2 separate regions of the Homo sapiens genome follow, and region 2 is linked to region 1. Evidence: promoter capture Hi-C in 16 types of primary human blood cells and fetal thymus (Javierre and others, 2016). All regions are on one chromosome and are shown on one strand. Each heading gives the region's core, a stretch centred on a gene start or on the middle of the fragment in contact. The rest is flanking DNA. Distances are from core to core; before and after follow the strand shown. Region 1 holds the start of CDX4 (caudal type homeobox 4). Region 2 has its middle 140 kb from the start of XIST.

Evidence for each region. Contacts are between HindIII fragments. The CHiCAGO score rates a contact against its expected background, and 5 or more counts as called.
Region 2: a fragment that was not itself captured here is called in contact with the fragment with the promoter of CDX4 in region 1 in 1 of 17 cell types (non-activated CD4 T cells); the score reaches 5.1 in non-activated CD4 T cells.

The regions. Positions count from the first base shown.
Region 1 is chrX:73,444,150-73,449,295 of GRCh38, forward strand. CDX4 (caudal type homeobox 4) reads left to right here and starts at 2,904. Exons shown (of 3, transcript NM_005193.2): 1 at 2,904-3,606. The coding sequence starts at 3,105. RefSeq lists enhancers at 2,598-3,263, 3,264-3,928. The HindIII fragment of the contact is 9,419 bases long and covers 649-5,146 here.
Region 2 is chrX:73,712,202-73,717,676 of GRCh38, forward strand. No RefSeq gene overlaps it. Among named protein-coding and RNA genes, the nearest start is that of XIST, 140 kb to the right of the region's middle. The HindIII fragment of the contact is 2,192 bases long and covers 158-2,349 here.

The DNA of each region.
Region 1 (5,146 bases), core at 1,654-4,153:
CAGTCCATTGGGAAGGGGAATTGATAATGAGATTCACAGAAGAGGAAGAGTGTTTTCTGAGAGGAGCATCACTACATAGGGCTTTAGCGAGAAGGGCACATTTCAACTGAACCTTGAAGAATAGAGACAGCTGGGTAAGTTGGTAACGTGCCTGTAGTCCCAGCTACTCAGAAGGCTGAGGTGGAAGGATTGCTTCATCCCAGGAGTTCGAGGCTGTAGTGAGCTATGATAGTGCCACTGTACTCCAGCCTGGGTGACAAGTGAGACTACATCTCTTAAAGAAAAATTTGGAGATTTTGAACACTTCTTTTTCTTTCCACAATTAGAAGATTGTAGAAAGAAACAGACTAGTCGAAGGAATTGCATATGCAAAGATACTTTTATTTTAGTGGAAAGAGTGCTGACCTGGTAGTCAATGGACCTGGGTTTACTTCCTTAAAGATTACCTTCCTCTCTTAAGCCATCAGTTTCCTAATCTGTTAAATAATAAGATTGGGTTTGTTAACTTCTAAAGATCCTCCATGTGCTTCCACTCTGACATATTTTTTCAAATATCAGATAGTATACTTTGCTTCAGAATTGAATAGGTGAAAGAATAATGCGAGGTAATTGGATCTATACTGTGAAGACTTGAATGCCAGGCCTGAAAGCTTGAGCAAAGAAAGAAAATAGAAGCTAAGCCCCAGTTCTAAACGCTGATGTTGTGTATTTGGGCCTGGTACCAATTGAAGAACACATGCCTTGCAGTCAGGGTGGCCCAGAATTTGAACCTAGCTTTACCACACACCAGCCATGTGCATTTAAATAGTCATGCCACCTCTCTGAGCCTCAGTTTCTACATCTCTAAAATGGGAATGACAATAACTCATGGGGCTGTTGTGAAGATAAAATAATGTGCAAAAAGTGTAAAAAGTGCCAATAGGTATGTTACTTTCCTGCCTCTTAGTCCCTTCTCCCCAGCACCAGACTTTAATTGGTCTTTTCTGATCAATTACTCATTTTCCTTCTTCTCTGAAACAAGTTTCAAAATATATACCGAATCCAACCACTTATCTCCACCCACACTGCCATTCACCTGTATTATTGCAATAGTCTTTTTTTTAAATCTGCCTGATTCTGTCTACTTACAGTCTATTTTTGATCCAATGGCCAGAGAGAGCCACTCAAAATTTAACTCAAATCATGTCACTCCTCTGCTCTAAACCCTACAATGTCTCCCTATCTCAAAGCAAAAACTAGAATTTTTGCAATGGCCTATTTCCCTTCAGCTTTTAGACCTCATCTAGTCTTTAGCTACACTGTCTTCCTTGCACTTTCTCCAACAGAAAATGAACATTCTGTTTTCACTTGTTTCTTTCTTCTGAATCCTCTGTCCTCTTACCTCACTCCATTAACTCTTTCATATTTTAGTTAAATGTCAATTATCTGTGAAGTCATCCTAGACTATCACATTTAAAATTGTGACGTCCACCTCCCAGCATTCCGTATATTCCTTCCCTGCTTTTTTTTTTCTCCATAGAGTTGATTACTGTCTGATATACCATAAAATTTAATTACTTATCAGTGTTTCTCCCCACTATGATATATGCTTAATAAAGCCGGAGGCTTTATCTGCTCACCACTGATGTCTCCATACATAGAACAGCACTAAGTACTCAATAAATATTTGCTGAGTGAATACAGTGGTCCCATACTGTGTGCCAAGCACTAAGTTAAGCAGTTTGCTTGCATTATCTGAGGAAATCCTGCTTGTAAGGTAGATACCATTAGGTTCTCTATTTTTAAAAGGGAAAACCCGTGAAACTCAGAGAGGTTAAGTGACTTTCCCAAAGCCATAGATGGATTAGCTAAAAGGGGGTGGGGGTGCCAGGTTATGTTGGATTTTGTGTAGGAGCACATTTCCTGAGTAGGAAGCAGCCTGGAGTAAAGGCTGTGGTAGGTCTTGGGGGTGCTGGGTGGAGAGGAGGAACACAAGAGGAGACCTGGTTTCTTGAGGCAAGATACTGATTTCATTGGCATCTACTAGCAAGTCTATGTCTTTTTCAACAATTGGAGTTTTACAAAGAAAACTTTTTTAGTTTGCTGCAGCTGCCATGGATTTGAGACTGCAAGAGTTCTGGCCCCTTGAGGCACTGGATTTCAGACAGAAGCCATACCTGGCAGAAGGAGACACCTGAGAGTAGTGGATTGACATGAAAATAGGAAAGTTTATTATCCACATGGTTCTCTCTCTCTCCTACCATTTTGCATAACCTACGTTACTCATCTTTCTTTAATTTGTGCATATTTGTAAACAACGTTCTATTAATTCAGCCTGCCATCCACTACAGTGTAATCTTAGGAAGGCAGAGCAAGAATTTTTGTCTTTTATTCACTGCTGTATCCCCATGCCTACACAGTACCTGGCACACAGTAGACGCTCAACAGAGAGTTGTGAAATGAATCTTTGCCCTTGGAAACAAAGGCGTCCTCTTGATGGAGGGAGTAAGGAGAGTAAGGGAAAGCTCTTTTCATTGGCATCCTGGGCCAGTGCCATGCAGTAAACCCCTGCGAGGGAATTGGGCAGAAGGAGACTGCAGATGCAGGTTGGACGCGGGAAGATCGGTGAAAGGGAGGAGGCCGCGGTGTAAGGACTGAATCCTAGAGAGCGGAACTTTGCCCGGTTTCTGCAGGTCTCTATCTGACTTTGAGGGGAGCTGGTCAGAAATCCCTGGAGGAGTTCCTGTCCCCAAAAGCACAATACTGACGCTATGGGGACCAGATGGACAGAATCAAGAAAGATGAGACAGAAAGGCCTGGGAGCTTGGGGAGTGGGTGAACAAGTTCCTGTGAAAGTGAAATGGCCCTTCATTTGAATGCAAATGCTATGTAAAAGCCTGAAGCCCCTTGACGTCAGCCCAGCCATTGGTGGCCTATCTATACAGGGCTGCTAGTCACCTGGATACCCTCGTAAGAAACGTGGGATGGAGTAGCCTGAGGGGTGCAAAAGAGCTTGCGGCACAACTACGTACTGATAAGTTTATTCTCTGCTGCTTCTCAAAGTCGAGTTGGGGCCTTACAGGGACTTCAGGATGGCTTAGGGAGCGCCTTCTACCCAAGACACGATGTACGGAAGCTGTCTTTTGGAGAAAGAAGCAGGCATGTACCCGGGCACTCTCATGAGCCCTGGGGGCGACGGCACAGCTGGGACAGGCGGCACAGGGGGCGGTGGGAGTCCGATGCCAGCCTCCAATTTCGCTGCGGCACCGGCTTTCTCGCACTATATGGGGTATCCTCATATGCCCAGCATGGATCCTCACTGGCCGTCTCTGGGAGTCTGGGGCTCACCCTACAGTCCCCCGCGAGAAGACTGGAGCGTGTATCCTGGGCCGTCTAGTACAATGGGCACAGTGCCGGTGAACGACGTGACCTCTAGCCCCGCCGCTTTCTGCTCGACCGACTACAGCAACTTGGGCCCTGTGGGCGGTGGAACTAGCGGCAGCAGCCTACCAGGCCAGGCTGGCGGGTCGCTTGTCCCGACGGACGCAGGCGCCGCCAAGGCCAGTTCCCCCAGCAGGAGCCGCCACAGCCCCTATGCATGGATGCGCAAGACGGTGCAGGTGACGGGTGAGTAATCAATTCCAATGCCCACACACTTTTCCTTCCTTCCCTTCTCCGCTACTTCTCTTGGTCGGCCTGCCCTCGTACTTCTCAGGCCTCTCCCAAGAGGGCTTAGCTGAGGCGACCCCTATATGGCTGGCTGGCCTATTAGGCATCTCCCTCGCATTCGCCTGGGCTCAAAACTCACTCACTGAGTGCAGCGATTGGGACTAAACCTACCCTAGAGGTGATTTTCGCCTTTCGCTGCTCCATGAAGAAAGCGAGTGAGTGGACAATGGGTATGTTAAGCCACAAGGATCAGGATGCAACCCTGTAGTTGCCCACATGGGAAAAGAGATGCATGAGAAAGCTCAACGGGTGAATGAAGCGAGAGGGCAGCTGTAGTGTCCCGTTGTTCAGGCACTGCTGCTTGACTGTTCCATTTCCAAACCCTTACCCATCTGAGCGGGCTGTCTCCCCCCTCCCCGCCCCCAAAGCTGGTGATGCTCAATTTAGGTTCACAGTGCTTGGCTGGCAACGGACCCTCCAGTTTAGCCACTAAGTCCCCGACGGCAAAGCAACCTCTTCACCCTGGCCTCTCAGGGAAGCTCCAGCTTCCTTCCTACAAGTTGGCAGAGGCAAATTGGCCTAAAATCCATTGCCATCTTACAACGTCCTTTCTTCTAACCCAAGTGTTGAGGCAGGCGAGAAGGCTACAGCACTGACCTGGTACATAATACGGTACCTAACCCTCACACCCGCCCGACACGCAAACGAATCAGCTCCAGCACTAATAAATGGCTAAAGCCCTCATAACTATCAAAGCAGGCGTCTCTCAGGCGTGGGGGCTGAATGCAGGTCTGCGGCAGCGCGAGAGAAGTCAAAGCGATCGCGATCACAGCCTAACCAGCAAGCCAGTGGGCGACTGCTGGGAGCCAGGGCGAGGGAAGTGGCCGTTCCACTTTAATCTTAACCGGGGCTGGGGGAGGAATGTTTGTTTTCAACTGTTGTTCTTTTATTACATTCTTATTATTCCAACCCTCGCTCCCTGTCATTAGAGAAAATTAGTAAAAATCGACTCTGAGTATTTTCATCCCTCTGGGGAGGAAATGGCATTTCAATAGCATTTGTCCGCAATGATTATGCTCCTGTTCTCAGTTCTGCACTTTGTCTTTCCTCCAAAAAGCAAAGACAGGAGGGTGGGAAGTGACCCATTTTTACCATTAGGAGAACTTTTAGCCAGGAAGAGGAAGTTCTGTGTATTAGAACCTCACTAGAGTAGCGATCCCAAGGTAAAAGTAGAGTTGAAATACTTGGCTTTAAAGCGTTTGCAAGTAAATCTGCATTTTAAAAAAATATGAGTGAGTCTGTCGACTAAGTAGAATAGAAAAAGAGGTTAGGGTGGGGCACTCCCAGAGTTTTTATTACATCTAATCTCGGGGTTGTAATTAACATCCACTCACTAAACCCTAACAATCAGCAAAAGACACAAAAGCTAGAAAAGTAGTTGCTCGCAGTCTAGGATTATGTTTTGAAACACATTAAGAGGAAAGTCACTGGCGTGCTG
Region 2 (5,475 bases), core at 4-2,503, 270 kb after region 1:
TTAAGGTCTGACTTCTGTAATCCAGCTATGTTAACTAAAATATATATTGATACAAAATTCAGAGAAAATACCATTTATTTGAAAAACAAAGAATTGCAACCCAGGTACACAAAGTCAGGGCAACCCTGAATAACACACCCAGAGACAAGCACAGGAAAGCTTTATTTAAATGGGAATGATTTCCACACACACAAAAAAATGTTGTTTTCAGAGGCAGTTTACTGTCTGGGCAGAAATCCTAAATTGCAAACCCATTCTGATTGGTAAATTAGGGTATTCCCAGCTGAGATATGTTGAAAACTGGAGGATACTGACGTCTGTTGTTATCCAAATATATTGGAACATCCTGTGGCTTTATTTTTAACAGGTAGGTGTGCAATCCTCTCACAGTATCCTGACTCTAAAGCCGTAGCCTTAAGTATTTCATTTTCTTTCACACCCACACTAGTGAAGGTTTAATAAACTAAAATAGGATGTACATAACAGGGGCCAAATAGAAAGAGGAGTTAGTGAAAAATTACAAAGGCTTGGTACTTTCAGTTGTTGGGGAGATTTTTAGAGGCCTTTTTTCCTCCGGCTGATTATTTTTGGTGGCTAAGGAAAGAAAATTTCAAATAAATGAACCTTTAAACTGATACTCTTAACATCCATATTTGAAGGGAAAAACATCTGAGCCCCATTTTCCATGATATCTCTAATATTCATCTGACAATCTATAGGTGCTTAATGAGTAATCAATTATAACATGTTATAAAATCTTCAGTTTCATTTGTCTTTCTGTTTGGCTTTTGTCTCTAAGTCTTGACTTTTCTTCATCTCTGTCTAAACCTTCCATTTGCTCAAAGTGCTGAAAACAGTCAACAAATAAATTTGTGTGGGCAAGTGGGAATGATAACTCTACTGACTACCCCACTGAATTCACCTGATTCATGTTAGTGTTGGTTTGGCTTCTGAGACTAATGAGCTTTGTCATAATCCAGGCTCTAAGTAAGAATTAAGTCTCAATGGGTAGAAAGAATGCCTGGTTAAAAGACACCAGAATGCCACATACCACAAGATTAAGGAAAATGGATTGATGACTCATAGCATGCCCACACTGGTGCCAGAAGTTGTAATGAAGGGAAGAATTAGTCAAGACTAACCAAGAAGAATAGGGCAAGTGAAGGGATGTATGCTATTGGATCTGAATAAATCAGAGTGTTTCCCAAAGATTGTTCTTCATTTCCTCCTCAGACTAGTAATGGCTGACAGAGACAATTTATGTTCATGTTGTCTAGTTGTTTAACAGAAAAGATTGGCCATGGGACATGGCTTGATGACTTGGGCAATGATTTAGAATATGTGAAAATGAATAGTTCCTCAAGAAATGTCAGCAACTGGGCCTATAACACACAATCTACTTTAAAATCTCACTCTGTTTTCTAGGTATGCAATAGGTCTTTTCCACTTCTTAATTGGTTGAGCTACAACAGAATGTAAAGTAGAACTAAAGATAAGCATGAAAATAGATCATGGACCAAGGAGTAGGAAAAGAAAGAATACTTGGGTTTTGGAAGCTGCAGTGAGACTTTGCATCTGAGGTAGAGGAAAAGTGGTTTGTGGAAAAAGCACTGAACTTGGATTGTGTGGATTCAAATTCTGTCTCCACGTCTTACTAGCTTTGAGATTACTTAGTCTTTGATAAGTTTATGAAATGGGAAGAATATAATAATCTTTGTCTTGCAGGACTATTGTGAGGATCTAATTAAGTCATGGATGTGGAAGAGCTTTCGAAATTGTAAAGTGAAGGGGAAGGTATTGTTGTTGTCTGGGACATCTCCACGCATACTGGCTACAAGGGCACTGTGGAGAAAAAGGAGAAATCCTCTCCCTCAGGGGAGCTGTATCCAGTGAACTCCTACAGCTGTCAGCCTCTAATCAATCCTCTTGGGAAGTCCAAAGTTTGTGTGAAACCTCAGTGGCATGTAGTACTAAAGATTACTAACTAATTTACCTTTCCTTTTGGTTTTCTTCCTCCAAATGTAGGCTTTTAAAGGAAACTTGCTCTTTTATTCCCTTTAAATCTTTCCAACTGACCTCCAGAAAGCTGACATAATAGTTTTAAGCAGATTATGCCTTGCTGTCCTAATATCAGGCAGTATTATATTGGCATTGTTTACCAGTTTTGAGAATGTAGCCCAAACACTTTCATTCAGGCCTCTCCATGACAAGTAACATATTTGCGAGATTGCTACCTACAGTTGAGGGGTTAGCTTGTGATTCTAGAACAAGGGGAACATGTAAGATTTAAATGCAGTGGTTTGGCATTAGGAGCATGATGTTCTAACCAACTCTTTGAATTTAATTTTAAGCTTCCAGGAACCATATTATAGGATGACATAAAATGTTGGCTATAAATAAAGATCTTTGAGGTCATCTACTCCAAAAGAAACAAGAAAGCACAGTCCCAGAGTGGAGTCAGAGACTTGGTTTTAATGGCAGAGTTGGAACTGAAGCTAAAGTTGCCTTATTTTCGATGTAGTATTTCTTATTCTGTTTCCATTGAATTATTTTCACTTTAAGTACAGGACCACCTCCTTTCTCTATGCCTATTTCTGGACAAATTGTCACTGAATCAGGCAAATTATCCAAGAAGCATGTTGCCAACTGTTTGATAATTTAGAGATGTCAGATAGCTGTCAAAGAGTGGGCCTAAAAATTTAACTTTTCACAGGCTATATTTTTGTTTTCCCCTTTTTATTACATTTTCATCGAAAGCTGTGACTACCGTATTGTATCCATACCTTTTCTTACATTTTATAGTCTTTATCAAGTTTGGCTGTAGCATATGCATTCCAGTTGATATTAGAGTTTACATGAGTTCAGTTGCTTCCTCTGAAAAATAAAAAGGGGTGGAAAATAAATGGTATTTGGAAAAAATGACCTCAAAGATTCTAGCTTTAGCATTCTATGATTTTAGGATTTAAATATTTTTTCATTGTAGGGTTTTTGACAATTCCCAATTTTTCATTAATAAAAATATCAATCATTTTGTACAAATATTTTTTAATTTATTTATAAGTGTTTCCTTAGGCTACATTCCAAAAGTGAGATTGCTGGGTTAAAGAGCAAGCTGACTTTTTAATGACCTCTCAATGCATAATGCCAAACTGCTCTCTATAAAGATTTATACTGCCTAGTTATATCATTATAGCAGTTCATAATTGTTCCTGCTTCTTGACAACCTTTCCAACATTGGTTCCTTTATTATTATTTTATTTTTTATTTGTCCAGACTTAACAGATACAAGTGTAGTGTTTTTACATGGATATATCGTGTAGTGGTGGAGTCTAAACTTCTAGGGTAGGCATCACCTGAATAATGAACATTGTACCCATTAAGTAATTTCTCATCCCCCTCCCCCTCCCACACTCCCACCATTTCAAGTCTCCAGTGTTTATTAATTTACATTCTATGTCCCTGTGATCACACTACTTAGCCCCTTCTTTTATAAGTGAGAACATGTGGTATTTGATTTTGTTTCTGAGTTGTTACACTTAAGATAATGGCCTCCAGTTCCATTCATGTTGCTCCAAAAGACATGATTTTATTATTTTTTATGGCTGAATAGTATTCCACTCTGTGTGTGTGTATATATATATATATATATATATATATCATTTACTTTATCCAATAATCAGTTGACAAGCAGGTTGATTCCATATCTTTGTTATAGTGAAGAGTACTGTGATAAACATATGAGTGCAGGTAGCTTTTTTATATAATGATTACCTCTGGGTAGATACCCAGTAGTAGAATTGCTGGATCGAATAGTAGTTCTAGTTTTAGTTCTTTGAGAAATCTCCATGCTGTTCTCCATAGAGGCTGTAGTAATTTACATTCCCACCAACAGTGTATAAGTGTTCTCTTTTTGCTGCATCCTCACCAACATGTTATTTTTTAACTTTTTGGTAATAGGCATCCTAACTGATGTAAAATTGCTGGGTCTGACCCACAGACCCTGGCCGAACGATGGATGAACAAATGCACTCCAACACAGATATCCAGTGAAAGAGTGGGCTAGGGGACCAGGCCGCTCACAGAAAGAGTTGTAGCAGCCGTGGCCCTGACAAGCTGGCACTGTGGGCATTTATTTAGTACAGATTTAATGACAAAGGCCTTGAGTTAACACACTTGTGGGTAATTAACATGGTTGCCCCCCCCCACCACCTCCCAAGACAGCAGTCCTGTGTGCAAATGATTAAAGGCCAGGTTCTGAGGCCTAAGTAAACTAACTTTTCTAGATCAGTTTCTTTACATCCCCTTGTTATCCAACCTAATCTTTCAGGCACTGGATAAGAGAATTTGGCTGCCCTTAGCTATATCCTTTTCCAAAGCTCTTGTAAAACCACCCAGCCTTTGAAGAAGGTTTGCATCTTTCTACAACTTTTCCCACCACCCTGACCAATCTCCTACATAAAATGATATCTCATTGTGGTTTAAATTTGCATTTCTCTGATTAGCAATGTTGAACATTTTTTTCATATGCTTATTGGCCATTTGCATGTCTTTTGAGAAATGTCTGTTCATGTTCTTTGCCCACTTTTTAATGGGCTTATTGGGTTTGTGGTTGTTGTTGAGTTCTTTGTAAATCCTGAATATTAGTCCCAATTAATATTTTGAACTAATGGTTCAAAAATATTTTTTCCCATTCTGTAGGTTGTATGTTCACTCTGATTATTTCTTTTGCTGTGCAGAAGTTTTTTAGTTTACTTAAATCCCATTTGTCTATTTTTGGTTTTGTTGCTTGTGCTTTTGAGATCTTAATCATGAATTATTTGCCTAGACCAATGTCCAAGAGAACTTTCCCTAGGTTTTCTTCAAGTATTTTTATTGTTTGAGGTTGTATTAGTCCATTTTCATGCTGCTAATAAAGACATACCTGAGACTGGGAAGAAAAGGAGGTTTATTTTGACTTACAGTTCCACATGGCTGGGGAGGTCTCACAATCATGGAGGAGGGCTAAAGGCACTTCTTACATGGCAGCAGCAAAAGAAAATGAGGAAGAAGCAAAAGCAGAAACCCCTGATAAACCCATCAGATCTCATTAGATTTATTCACGACCACAAGAATATCACAAGTAACACCAGCCCCCATGATTCAATTACCTCCCACTGGGTCCCTATTCTGCATATGGAAATCTAATTTTCCCAGAACTGTGTATTGAAAAGGGTATCCTTTCCCCAGTGTATGTTTTGTCAACTGTGTCAAAGATCAGTTGGCATACATATGTGGCTTTATTTGTGAGTTCTCAACTGTTCCATTGGTCTATGTGTCTATTTTTACACCAGTACCATGCTGTGTTTGTTACTATAGCCTTGTAGTATATTTTGAAGTTAGGTAAGTGTAGTATATTTTGAAGTTTTTTGATGGAGTCTTGAGGGTTTTCTAGATATAAGCTTACATCATCAGCAAGGAGAGATAATTTGACTTCTT